2 separate regions of the Homo sapiens genome follow, and region 1 is linked to region 2. The links are contacts of gene promoters, found by promoter capture Hi-C in human tissues and cell types (Jung and others, 2019). All regions are on one chromosome and are shown on one strand. The core of a region is centred on a gene start or on the middle of the fragment in contact, and the rest is flanking DNA. Distances in the headings are between cores, read along the strand shown. Region 1 overlaps VTCN1 (V-set domain containing T cell activation inhibitor 1). Region 2 holds the start of TRIM45 (tripartite motif containing 45).

Region 1 (5,419 bases), core at 791-3,290, 53 kb before region 2:
GTATCTCCCAGTTCTGTTAGTATTTGAGAAGGAGGCAGAAACTCGAGAACATAGAAACCATTCATGTTTGAATAAAACAAAAAGCATTTTATGTTTTCCAGACTGAGCATTTTGAGCTTTCCACACTGTGTAGCAGATCCAGAAAGCTCTTGTTTTTAGAAAAGGTGCTCGAGGAGGTGACAGGAGCCTTCCAAACATGAGGCCTCCTGCCACTTTTTCTAGAAGTATAGCATGTAGTTAAGACCTCAAGTCTGTAAGTCATACACCCTCAAATTGAGACCTGACATTCCCACCTTCCAGCTGTGACAGCTTCATCTGTTACTTAAGCTAAGCCTCAGTTTCCCCACATGTAAAAAGGTAATGAGAGTAGTACTTACCTCATGGGGTTGCTGTAGGGTTGAATGAGAAACAATATAATGAGGCATTATGCCTGATAAGCATCGGCTCTTGTTATGCCATGCCATGGACCTCTGATAAATGAAAGGTTGTTTAAGAGATAGGTGTCTCTGGCCAGGCATGGTGGCTCACACCTGTAATCCCAGCACTTTGGGAGGCCGAGGCAGGTGGATCACCTGAGGTCAGGAGTTCAAGACCAGCCTGGCCAACATGGTGAAACCCTGTCTCTACTAAAAATAAAAAATTAGCCGGGCGTGGTGGCACGTGCCTGTAATCCCAGCTACTCGGGAAGCTGAGACGGGAGAATCGCTTGAACCTGGGAGGCGGAGGTTGCAGTGAACTGAGATCATGCCAGTGCACTCCAGCCTGGGCAACAGAGTGAAACTCCATCTCAAAAAAAAAAAAAAAGAGAGAGAGAGAGAGAGATAGGTATCTCTCTTCTGGTTTATTTTTTGGTGTGTGATACAGTAATACAGCCTGTCCGCTGCAGTATATGTTTCTATAGCATCAATGAGCTCATGTGTGGTTGCAAAACGGGAATGATGGCAGGACAACATGGACGTTGTGTTGGTTCACATGCCTTTTCTTTCAAAGCAAGGAGAGTTGAAATAGCAGAATAGAATGAGAACTTCAGTGGGAAAAGCTTAGCATGGCTTTCAGTTCTATTTTTATTTTATGAAAAAGAATTTTTTTGAATGAACATCTGCACACGGGGCTCCCTCTCCAGAGAAGTACATCCTACCCTTGCGTGTCCTAGGCTGCACATCCGCTTCACAGCGACCACGCCGGCTCACAGCACCCAGCAGCGGGAGTGTTTATTTTATTATATCTGTGCATTTTTTATATCCCCTGAAGTAGTTTCTGGCCCTACTGAGTGCCTGCCTTGTCTGTCTAAGTTATCTCCCGAGGTACTAGTTATTGTTTCTGTTAGTAGACTAATTACAAAGTCGCATAGGTTTCGAGCGCTCTGCCTTTAAGCCTATTTTCCCCCATAAGGCCTGTTACCTTTATTGTGAATGTGAGGCTTTTCAGGAATGTGCATATGTTTTAACAAAGGCCCAATTTCTTTCACATGCTGCAGAAGGCAGCAGCAGCTGAAGCAGGCATGTGAGGGAATCGAACCAGGCCCTCCTCAGGAATGGAGACAGAATTCCAGGCTGCAAAGCTGCTCCTTCACCTGGAAGGCTCTGGGTTCTGCAGCCTCTGAAAGCACCTTCCCAGCCCACAGCCCAGAGCACTAAAGTGCAATGCTTAGATCCTGACCCCCTGCACCCCCAGTGCAGCAGAAATAATACCTTTTCTGTGTGTTTCTGCCTTGGACAGAGAGTGTGTAACAGCATGGATCAGCTCAATATATTTCTGAATAAAGCCTTTTTCTTCACTTTCTTTGAAATTTGTTCATGGAAATGCACTTTGATTATCTCTGTTTCCCCTGGGTTTAAATTCTTCCTACCTCCCTAGATCTTGGCTCATTGTAATCTCCACCTCCCGGGCTCAAGCAATTCTCCTGCCCCAGCCTCCCGAGTAGCTGGGATTACAGGCACTTGCCACCACGCCCAGCTAATTTTTGTATCTTTAGTAGAGACAGGGTTTCACCATGTTGGCCGGGCTGGTCTTGAACTCCTGACCTCAGGTAATCCGCCCGCCTCGGCCTCCCAAAGTGCTGGGATTACAGCCGTGAGTCACCGCGCCTGGCCTGTTCATTTCTTTACTAAAGCCCTGATCACATTCTGCCTCAGATTATTACAAAGGTTTGTGTGTATGTCACGTCAGTTTAACTATAAGCTTCTTGAGGGCAGGGACCTTGTTTATATCATCTCTCCATTTCTTTCATATTGACTAGCACTATGTCTTTCACATAGTAAGTACTTAATAAATGTTTACTGAATGAGCAAGTCCTCCAAAAGCATTGATTTTTATTTGGGCCCTTTTGTAATGAGTGGGTACCAAAAGTACACTGTGAATCCCAATGCAGTGGTTAGAAGACATAGTTTTGCATTAAAAATTTCCTGCAGCATAGTTATTGGAAACCATTGAGGGGAAAGCAAAGATCAGAAAGCAATGTAAGAACCCCTGAAGTGAAATATTTTTTTCATCTTTCTAAAAAATTAATAAGCAATAGGCAAGAATTAATTTAGCTGCTCTGGTAGTTCCTGCTTCTCTTTCCAAGGCTCTGGAAGTTGAATTGTTTCCCAAGGGAATACTAGCTCAGAACAAACCTCACGGTGATTCCTGCCCTGATAGGGAATTTGGTGACAGATGGCAGGGTTGTTTTCACAGCGAGGGAAACGTGGGCCTGGTGTGATGGAGGGGCTCAGGAGCTTTGGCCGAAATGCACAACTTCCATTGTCCCCCCTCTTCTTGGCAAGGGCCCAGGTATCTGTTCAGTGTCGCTGTTCAGGTCCCCTCCCGTAAAAGTCACAGCTTTTAATAATAAACTTACAGCAATAGTTTATAAGTAAAATTTATTTATAGTAAAAAGTAGTGTATGAATAGCCCTTTCTGAATAATGCCACATTTATTATCTAATTTGATCCTGAAACAACCTTTTTGTATTAGTTTGCTAGTGCTGTTGTAACAAAGTACTGAAAACCAGGTGGCTTAGAAATGGAAATGTATTATCTCTCAGCTCTAGAGGCTGGAGGCCAGGATGGACATGTCTGCAGGATTTGTTACCTGTGAGAGCAGTGAAAGAGAATCCATTGCATCTCTCTCCCAGATTCTGGAGTTTTGCTGGCAACCTTTGGTGTTCCTTGAGTTGTAGATCTCTGCTTTCATCTTTACATGGTGTTGTGTGTGTGTGTGTGTGTGTGTGTTCATCTGTGTCCAAATTTCCCCTTTTTATAAGGACACCAGCCATATTGGATTAGGAATTAACCACTACCCTACTCTGGTATGACCTTAACTAACTACATCTGCAATTGTGTCCGGAATTTATTCCTTCTGGTGGGTTCATGGTCTTGCTGACTTCAAGAATGAAGCCGCTGACCTCGCGGTGAGTGTTACAGCTCTTAAAGGTGGCGCGTCCGGAGTTGTTTGTTCCGGAGTTGTTTGCTCCTCCCTGTGGGTTCTGGTCTCTCTGACTTCAGGAATGAAGCTGCGGTCCTTCACGGTAAGTGTTACAGCTCATAAAGGTAGTGCAGACCCAAAGAGGGAGCAGCAGCAAGATTTACTGTGAAGAGCGAAAGAACAAAGCTTCCACAGCATGGAAGGGGACCGGAGGAGTTTGCCGCTGCTGTCTGGGGTGCCCAGCTTTTATTCCCTTATTTGGCCTCACCCACATCCTGCTGATTGGTCCATTTTACAGAGTGCTGATCCGTGCGTTTACAATCCTTTAGCTAAATACAGAGTGCTGATTGGTGCATTTTTACAGAGTGCTGATTGGTGCATTTACAATCCTTCAGACAGAAAAGTTTTCCAAGTCCCCCACTCGACCTAGGAAGTCCAGCTGGCTTCACCTCTCACAATGACCCCATTAGTAAGTAAAGGCACACTCTGAGGTACTTGGGGTTAGGACTTCAACATGTGAATGTGGGGGGGGACACATGCAGCCTTTATAATAGGTAAAGCAGGAATTACTCTGTTTCCCATTTTACAAAAAAATAAGCCTCAGAGCGATGAAGTATTTTATCCAAAGTAAATGAAAACCCTAGGCCACACACAAGTCGGCTGCCTGTGTCAGTAGTCAAAGACAGCAGATGGTGCCTCTCGCTATGACTTTATCTAGCTGTTCTCACTCTCTTGGACCAGTAAGAACTGAGGCTACACTGAGGTGTGGGAAAAGAGGAGCAGTGGCCAAATATGGTCTCCCTTGGAATCAATTTAGCAGATGCCCTATTATTTAAAGCTTCGCTTGCTGCCTTGTGGCTGCACCTTATGAGGGCTTGGCCGGCAGGGGAACTGTTGTTTCTGTCTGGTGGGCCCATTCCTGAGCCATAGGAGGCTGGGAACAATGAGCCTATTCAGGGCAGAAAGTGCAAAGCCCCGCGTTTCTTTTTTCTCTCTATAGCATCGTTCTTTGCCTCCCTGTGCCTTTCTTTTGTCCTGCCTATTGAGTAACATCAGCGTGGGTGTTGGGAGCGTGTGAATTGGCAGCCGTGTGAGCGGGCGGCTGAGGACGTCTGACCGATGATGTATGCGCCAGGACAGGCAGCAACGGGCGAGCTTCCCAGGAACCACTTTGACCTATGCCTTCTGCTCTGCCTGAGTCACTCTCACGAGCTAAAGCAGGTGACCCCTCATGGAGTGCTTGTTCCCCTTGGCAAAGAAAAGGGACACGCCCCATCGGTGAGCTCCTACCCTTGGTACACTTGGAGGGAGTTGAGTACAGATTTAAGAGACAAATTCTAATCTCTGCTCTGCCACTTGCCAACTGTGTGACTTTAGGGAAGATGCTTAATCTCCCTGTGTCACTTCCCCATCTATAAAATGGAGACAATAAAATTTGTTCTCCTCCTAAGGTTACTAAATGGATAATTGATATAAGTTATACATGCTGCTTGGTTGGAACAACATGTCTGCCATATAATTCTAGCACTTAGTACATGTAAGCAATACTTCCTTATTTGTTTATTTAGTTTCCCGGGTGTCATTTGTTAATCTGTTCATTAAAAATTGGTGAGGATCCACCAGTTAGAATGCTGATAATTAAAAAGTCAGGAAACAACACATGCAGGCGAGGCTGTGGAGAAATAGGAACGCTTTTACGCTGTTGGTAGGAGTGTAAATTAGTTCAACCATTGTGGAAGACAGTGTGGTGATTCCTTAAGGATCTAGAACCAGAAGTACCATTTGACCCAGCAATCCCATTACTGGGTATATACCCAAAGGATTATAAATCATTCTACTATAGAGATACATGCACACATGTGGTTATTGCAGCACTATTTACAATACCAAAGACTTGGAACCAACCCAAATGTCCATCAATGATAGGCTGGATAAAGAAAATGTGGCACGTATACACCATAGAATACTATGCAGCCATAAAAAAGAATGAGTTCATGTCCTTTGCAGGAACATG
Region 2 (5,280 bases), core at 2,526-5,025:
CAGGTCTTTATTAAATGACTACTGTCTAGGTTGCCAAGATTTTCCATCTTAACAGAGAGAGTATACATGTATGTATGTGATATATATAGTGTGTAAATATATACACATATGTAAATATATACACATGCATATATATACACACATAATAAATAAAAACAATACCACAAGGTAGCACAAACTGCAAAGTGAATAATATAGGCAAAACAGCATTAGGCTTGAATCTGGAGCCCTGAAATAAGAGAAAGCTTCAAGGGGGTAGTGTGAAGTAGGGCTTTCATAGAAGGAAGGGTAGGTTTAAATAATAAAGGAAGGAGAATGTTGCCGACAACTTGGCAAACACCAAGAAACGTGCTTGGCAATGTTTAGGGAATAACTAAACAAGCAGTTTTATGAATCTATTGAAGAATGCAGATATTATCCTACAAAAATGGGGAGCTACTGAAAGTTTTAGAATGAAGACTGACTTGTATCATGTTTTTATATGTTTTTACAATTAATTTGGAAGAACTGTGTAGATCAAAAAAAATAAAGGGCAGGGATAATTCAGACACTATTGTAATACTTAAGGTGAGGGTGATAAAGAGCTATAGCATCTTAAAAAGTGTATGCAGTGAGGTGTTGGCAGTGGGGATGGAAAGAAATCGGTGTCTGCCTGGATATGGAACAAGAGAAAGGAGGCCAGCAGCACTATAAGGTTTCATGCAGGAGGGAAAGGAGAATGATGATACTCTGGAGAGAATCAAATAGGAAAATTCAGAGAGTGCAGTTCAGTGAGCAAAGAAGTTCAGTGAAGTTTAAGCTATGTGGGACTTGGTGATAGGAACATATTTGAGTGCAGATTTAGAAATCTATGTCAAAAGCTCAGGGGAGACATCAGTACTGGAAGCGTTGGTCTGGGAATCATCCACGTGAGGAAATGTAGACGCAAAGGTAGGAGATAAAGTGGAGGAAGGGGAACTAGTGAGGATGGAGGGTGTGAGAAGCAGCCCAAGAGACAGAAGGTTAGGAGAGTAGAGTATTTCAGAAGTCAAGGAGGAGGCAAGTTTTAAGGATGAGGAAGTACAAAAAATGGTAAATACTAAAGAGATTGCCTATTGAGAAAAGGCCAGCAATATGGTCACTCATGATCTACAAGAAAGTCTCAATAGGAAAGAGGGGAGGAATAAATCGGTGGTGATGGTTATAAAAAGATGATGAAAGCAGACAGTGAGACCACCCTTTTGAGAAATATAGGGGCGAGAACCACCACTATTAATACGTTGAAGGGGAGCTAGATCAAAAGACGATTTGCTTCCCCTTTCAGGACTTCATCAGAACTCTTGGCAGAAAAACTGACTGAAACATAGGAATAAGGTTTTGAGGAAGCAGGAGAGGTTGGGATAAAAAACAAAAATCTTGAGGAACTAATCTTGGCACTAAAGAATGGCAGTCAGGAGAGGTAAGAGAGGAGGTGTGAGGAATCATGGATTTTTTAAGTAGAAAGGCGAGGCAGTTCTTCAGACAACCTTGTTTTTCTCATCAATGGAAGGGAATTAGCTGCAGCATGTGTGAGGGATTTGATGCTTAATAAACTGAGAAAGGAAAGGTAGAGGTGGCCAGGCGCGGTGGCTCACGCCTGTAATCCCAGCGCTTTGGGAGGCCGAGGCGGGTGGATCACCTGAGGTCAGGAGTTCGAGAGGAGCCTGCCCAACATGGTGAAATCCAGTCTCTACTAAAAATACAAAAAATTAGCCAGGTGTGGTGGTGCATGCCTGTAATTCCAGCTACCTGGGAGGCTGAGGCAGGAGAATCGCTTGAACCCTGGAGGTGGAGGTTGCAGTGTGCCGAGATCCTGCCATTGCATTCCGGCCTAGGCAACAAGAGCAAAACTCAATCTCAAAAAAAGAAAAAAAAAAAAAGGGAAAGGTAGAGGTAGCCCGAATATAATCTTAGATATGGCATCATAAGGTTGTGTTCAAGTTCCAGATATGTTAACTTGGGCTGGCCATCCAAGACCTGGCAAGACCTCTTTGAGGCCATTTCCTTACAATATTGTTAAAGGTTAAATGAGATACTGCTAAATGAGATATTGCACGTGTAAATTATGAAGTACTTCTGAAACAAGAGAAGCTTGAAACTACTACCACAAGAAATGTGATACAGTATGAACAAGAGATGAAGTAAAGCACAGCCAAGCAGCAGGGAGGGTAAAGGTGAAGTTCAAAGCAAGAATATATAGCAAACCCAAGTCCACACAGTTTTTGTGACTTCCTCCAGCCTACTGGAGAGGCGAATGCCGATTTTGAGAGTAGATGCAAGAAGGACAAGAGGCTGAAAAAAATCTAGGTAAGGACTATTTAAAAATCTTTGGAGATATGCTTAACATTTGGAAATTACTTGCACATTTTATATAAAGGTGGCATTTGACTCATTGGCGTGTTATATTTTGGAAATGGCCAAACATTTCATTTTTATATTTTATAATGGTTTTTTTTTTTTTTTTCATATTTTGGGGTTAACTTTTTTTCAGATTCCATACTTTTAAAAGCTTAGGCTCCAGACACTATGCCTATAGCATGAAACAGATAATGAAGGAATCAAGTGAAACAGTCGCCCACTGGGTACAAATTAAGTAGGGAAGGTCATGAACAAAGAAAGCAGTGAGGGCCCAGTAGACAAGCTGACGCAACTGGAGATAACAACAGGTGGAGGGGAAAGGAGCAGCTGTTTCCATTTTTGGAATTTTGGAGAATCAGGAGACGCCTGGTAAGGCCAGAGAAGGTGGCCGTGTAATTATAAAGTTAAAGGGGTCGGACGTGTTCATCTTCCCAATTAGTTTTAAGCCCACAAAGGGCTTGTCCCTCATTGCCACCGTCCATTGTCTCACTGTGACCAGGCAGGAGCCCTCCGTGATTGACTGATAAAAACAGCGGGTCCAACTCGCTCAGCTCGTTTCTGTTACACAGGACTGTGGAATCCCGGGTGACATTCAACTCCTTAGGTCATCTGCACTCCCCCCGGACCGGAAAACAAAGCCTTCCCGAGCCCGACAAGGAGGGTGGCGCTCCCTGGCCCGGCCGAAGTAAGCCCTCCATTCGACACCTCGGCTCCACGGTCTCCCGAACCGGTCCCCGTAACGCGAGCCTGAGATGCCCTCACCCCCGAAAAATACCCAAAGTCGGGGAGCCGCGGGAGTGCTTGTACCCAGCACGCTAGGCCTGAGGGACCTGTGAGCTACAGTAAGCGCCTGAGGACAGAGGGGAGCCTCGCAGCCTCAAACCCGCGTGGAGGAGAAACGTCTGGCGCCCCCGAGCGGCCGAGACCTCGGGAGCCCGAAAAACGTCTCCCACTCCCAGCGCAGAGCCAACTGACAGTGCCATCCACCAATGGGAGAACCCAGTCTGCGTTCGTGGGACGAGTCCGAGGGCAGAAAGAAGGCCGTCCCGGCGCCAAATCAGCGTGGCTTTTTAAGAGGTCCTGAGGCCTCTCTGGTCACCACAGAGAGAGGGACAGTCCCTGTGAAACGGTGACGCTGACTACACTATGCCGCTCGCTCCGAGCCTTGGCCTTTTCCTCCCGCCGCACTCTAAGCCCTTCGGCCGCCCCGCCCACGGCCTTGTCAGGTCCCGCCCCCCGCGTGAGTGGACTGGCGAAGATGTGGAATTTCCAAAACTTATTGGATGCTTAGTGGCGTCACTCTGGAGGGCGGCGGGGCCCGGAGCGGCGAGGGCCGCCGCTCTCGGACGGTGATTGGACTCGCCGGAGTAGACCGGGCTGGGATTGGTGTGAGGAGGGGCCAGAGCCCGCGGGCGTCCCGGGCCGAGGCGCGGGAGAGGCGGTGGACACCGAGAAGCCCGCCGGCGGCTTGCAATTCCCTCACCCGGCGCGCGCCTTTCGCAGAGGGAAGGAGCAAGAGGGCCCCTACCTCATCGTGCGCGGGTGGGGTCGGCGCTTGTCGCGTGTGGCGCGCAGTGGGGCGGGCGGCGGGAGGGGGGTGGCAGTGGAGGGAGCGAGAGGTGCAGGGGTGACTTTGTTGGCAGCAGGACTAGCTGGAGAGCTAGACCTGGAAGCGCATCCGGGGAGGACTTGCGGGGCAGAGGAGGGCGTGGGCGTGTCTGGTGTGGGATGCAGTGGAAAGGAGGGGGCCCTCCTGAGTAGATCTGTGGGTGATTCCTTCGAGGACGCCTCGTCTTCCCGTCTGCCCTTTTATTTGTCAGCGAGGGAGTCCCCATGGTCTCTGTTCAAGTTCTGGAGACTTTCTCTTTGGGTGGGCTTAATCACCTGCTACTAAATCGTAGAACTGCCCAGGGCCCTTTCTAATATTGGTCACAAACGTGAGGAGTATGTCAGAAAACAGAAAACCGCTGCTGGGCTTTGTAAGCAAACTCACTAGTGGGACTGCACTTGGGAACTCAGGCAAGACTCACTGCCCCCTGTGCTTGGGGCTTTTCAAAGCCCCCAGGCTCTTGCCTTGTTTGCATACAGTTTGCACCACGTGTCTGGAGCAGCTGGAGCCCTTCTCAGTAGTGGACATCCGAGGGGGAGACTCTGACACAAGCTCTGAGGGGTCAATATTCCAGGAACTCAAGCCACGAAGTCTGCAGTCGCAGATCGGCATCCTTTGTCCTGTATGTGATGCTCAGGTGGACCTGCCCATGGGTGGAGTGAAGGCTTTAACCATAGACCACCTGGCCGTGAATGATGTGATGCTGGAGAGCCTACGTGGGGAAGGCCAGGGCCTGGTGTGTGACCTGTGCAACGACAGGGAAGTAGAGAAGAGGTGTCAGACCTGCAAAGCCAACCTCTGCCACTTCTGCTGCCAGGCTCATAGGTAAAGATGGGACACTCCATCAGGTGTAGCTTAAGAGCAGATTACAAAGAGGTGTCAAGACAAATCCCTCGGTGAGCAGATGAAAAGGAAAGCCTTCTCAAATACCGTGGAAGGTCAAAGAGCAATATAACAATGCAATAGCAAATACTCCAGTACAACAGTTAACCCGGTTAGCCTAATATAGTACCTAATATATAGCCTAATATAGCAATAGCAATAAACCCTTTCAATTTACAAAGTGCAGCTACAGTTTCCTTCAGTCATTCGTGTAGTGAATAATTGTACTGGGTGCTGGAGAAACAGGAGAATGAATATAACAGCATAGATCCTGTTCTTGATCTCCTTCGATCTTGCAACTCTTACAGAAAAGCAGGCCCTGTTTTCGCCCCCATTTATTAATTGGGGAAACAAGCTCAGCAATATTATGTGATTTGCCAAGGTCCTACAGTTGGTAAGTGTGTAACAGAACT

The links. Contacts are between HindIII fragments. The study calls those that stand out against the background at their distance.
Region 1: a contact is called between a fragment that was not itself captured here and the fragment with the promoter of TRIM45 in region 2, in 1 of the 25 tissues and cell types used here (pancreas).

Annotation. Positions count from the first base shown.
Region 1 is chr1:117,171,159-117,176,577 of GRCh38, reverse strand. All of the region lies in intron 1 of VTCN1 (V-set domain containing T cell activation inhibitor 1), which reads left to right. Among named protein-coding and RNA genes, the nearest start is that of VTCN1, 37 kb to the left of the region's middle. RefSeq lists enhancers at 3,901-4,462, 4,463-5,025. The HindIII fragment of the contact is 3,755 bases long and covers 163-3,917 here.
Region 2 is chr1:117,120,244-117,125,523 of GRCh38, reverse strand. It overlaps TRIM45 (tripartite motif containing 45), which reads left to right and starts at 3,775. Exons shown (of 6, transcript NM_025188.4): 1 at 3,775-4,810. The coding sequence starts at 4,323. RefSeq lists an enhancer at 3,341-3,510 and a silencer at 3,821-4,010. The HindIII fragment of the contact is 5,274 bases long and covers 2,319-5,280 here.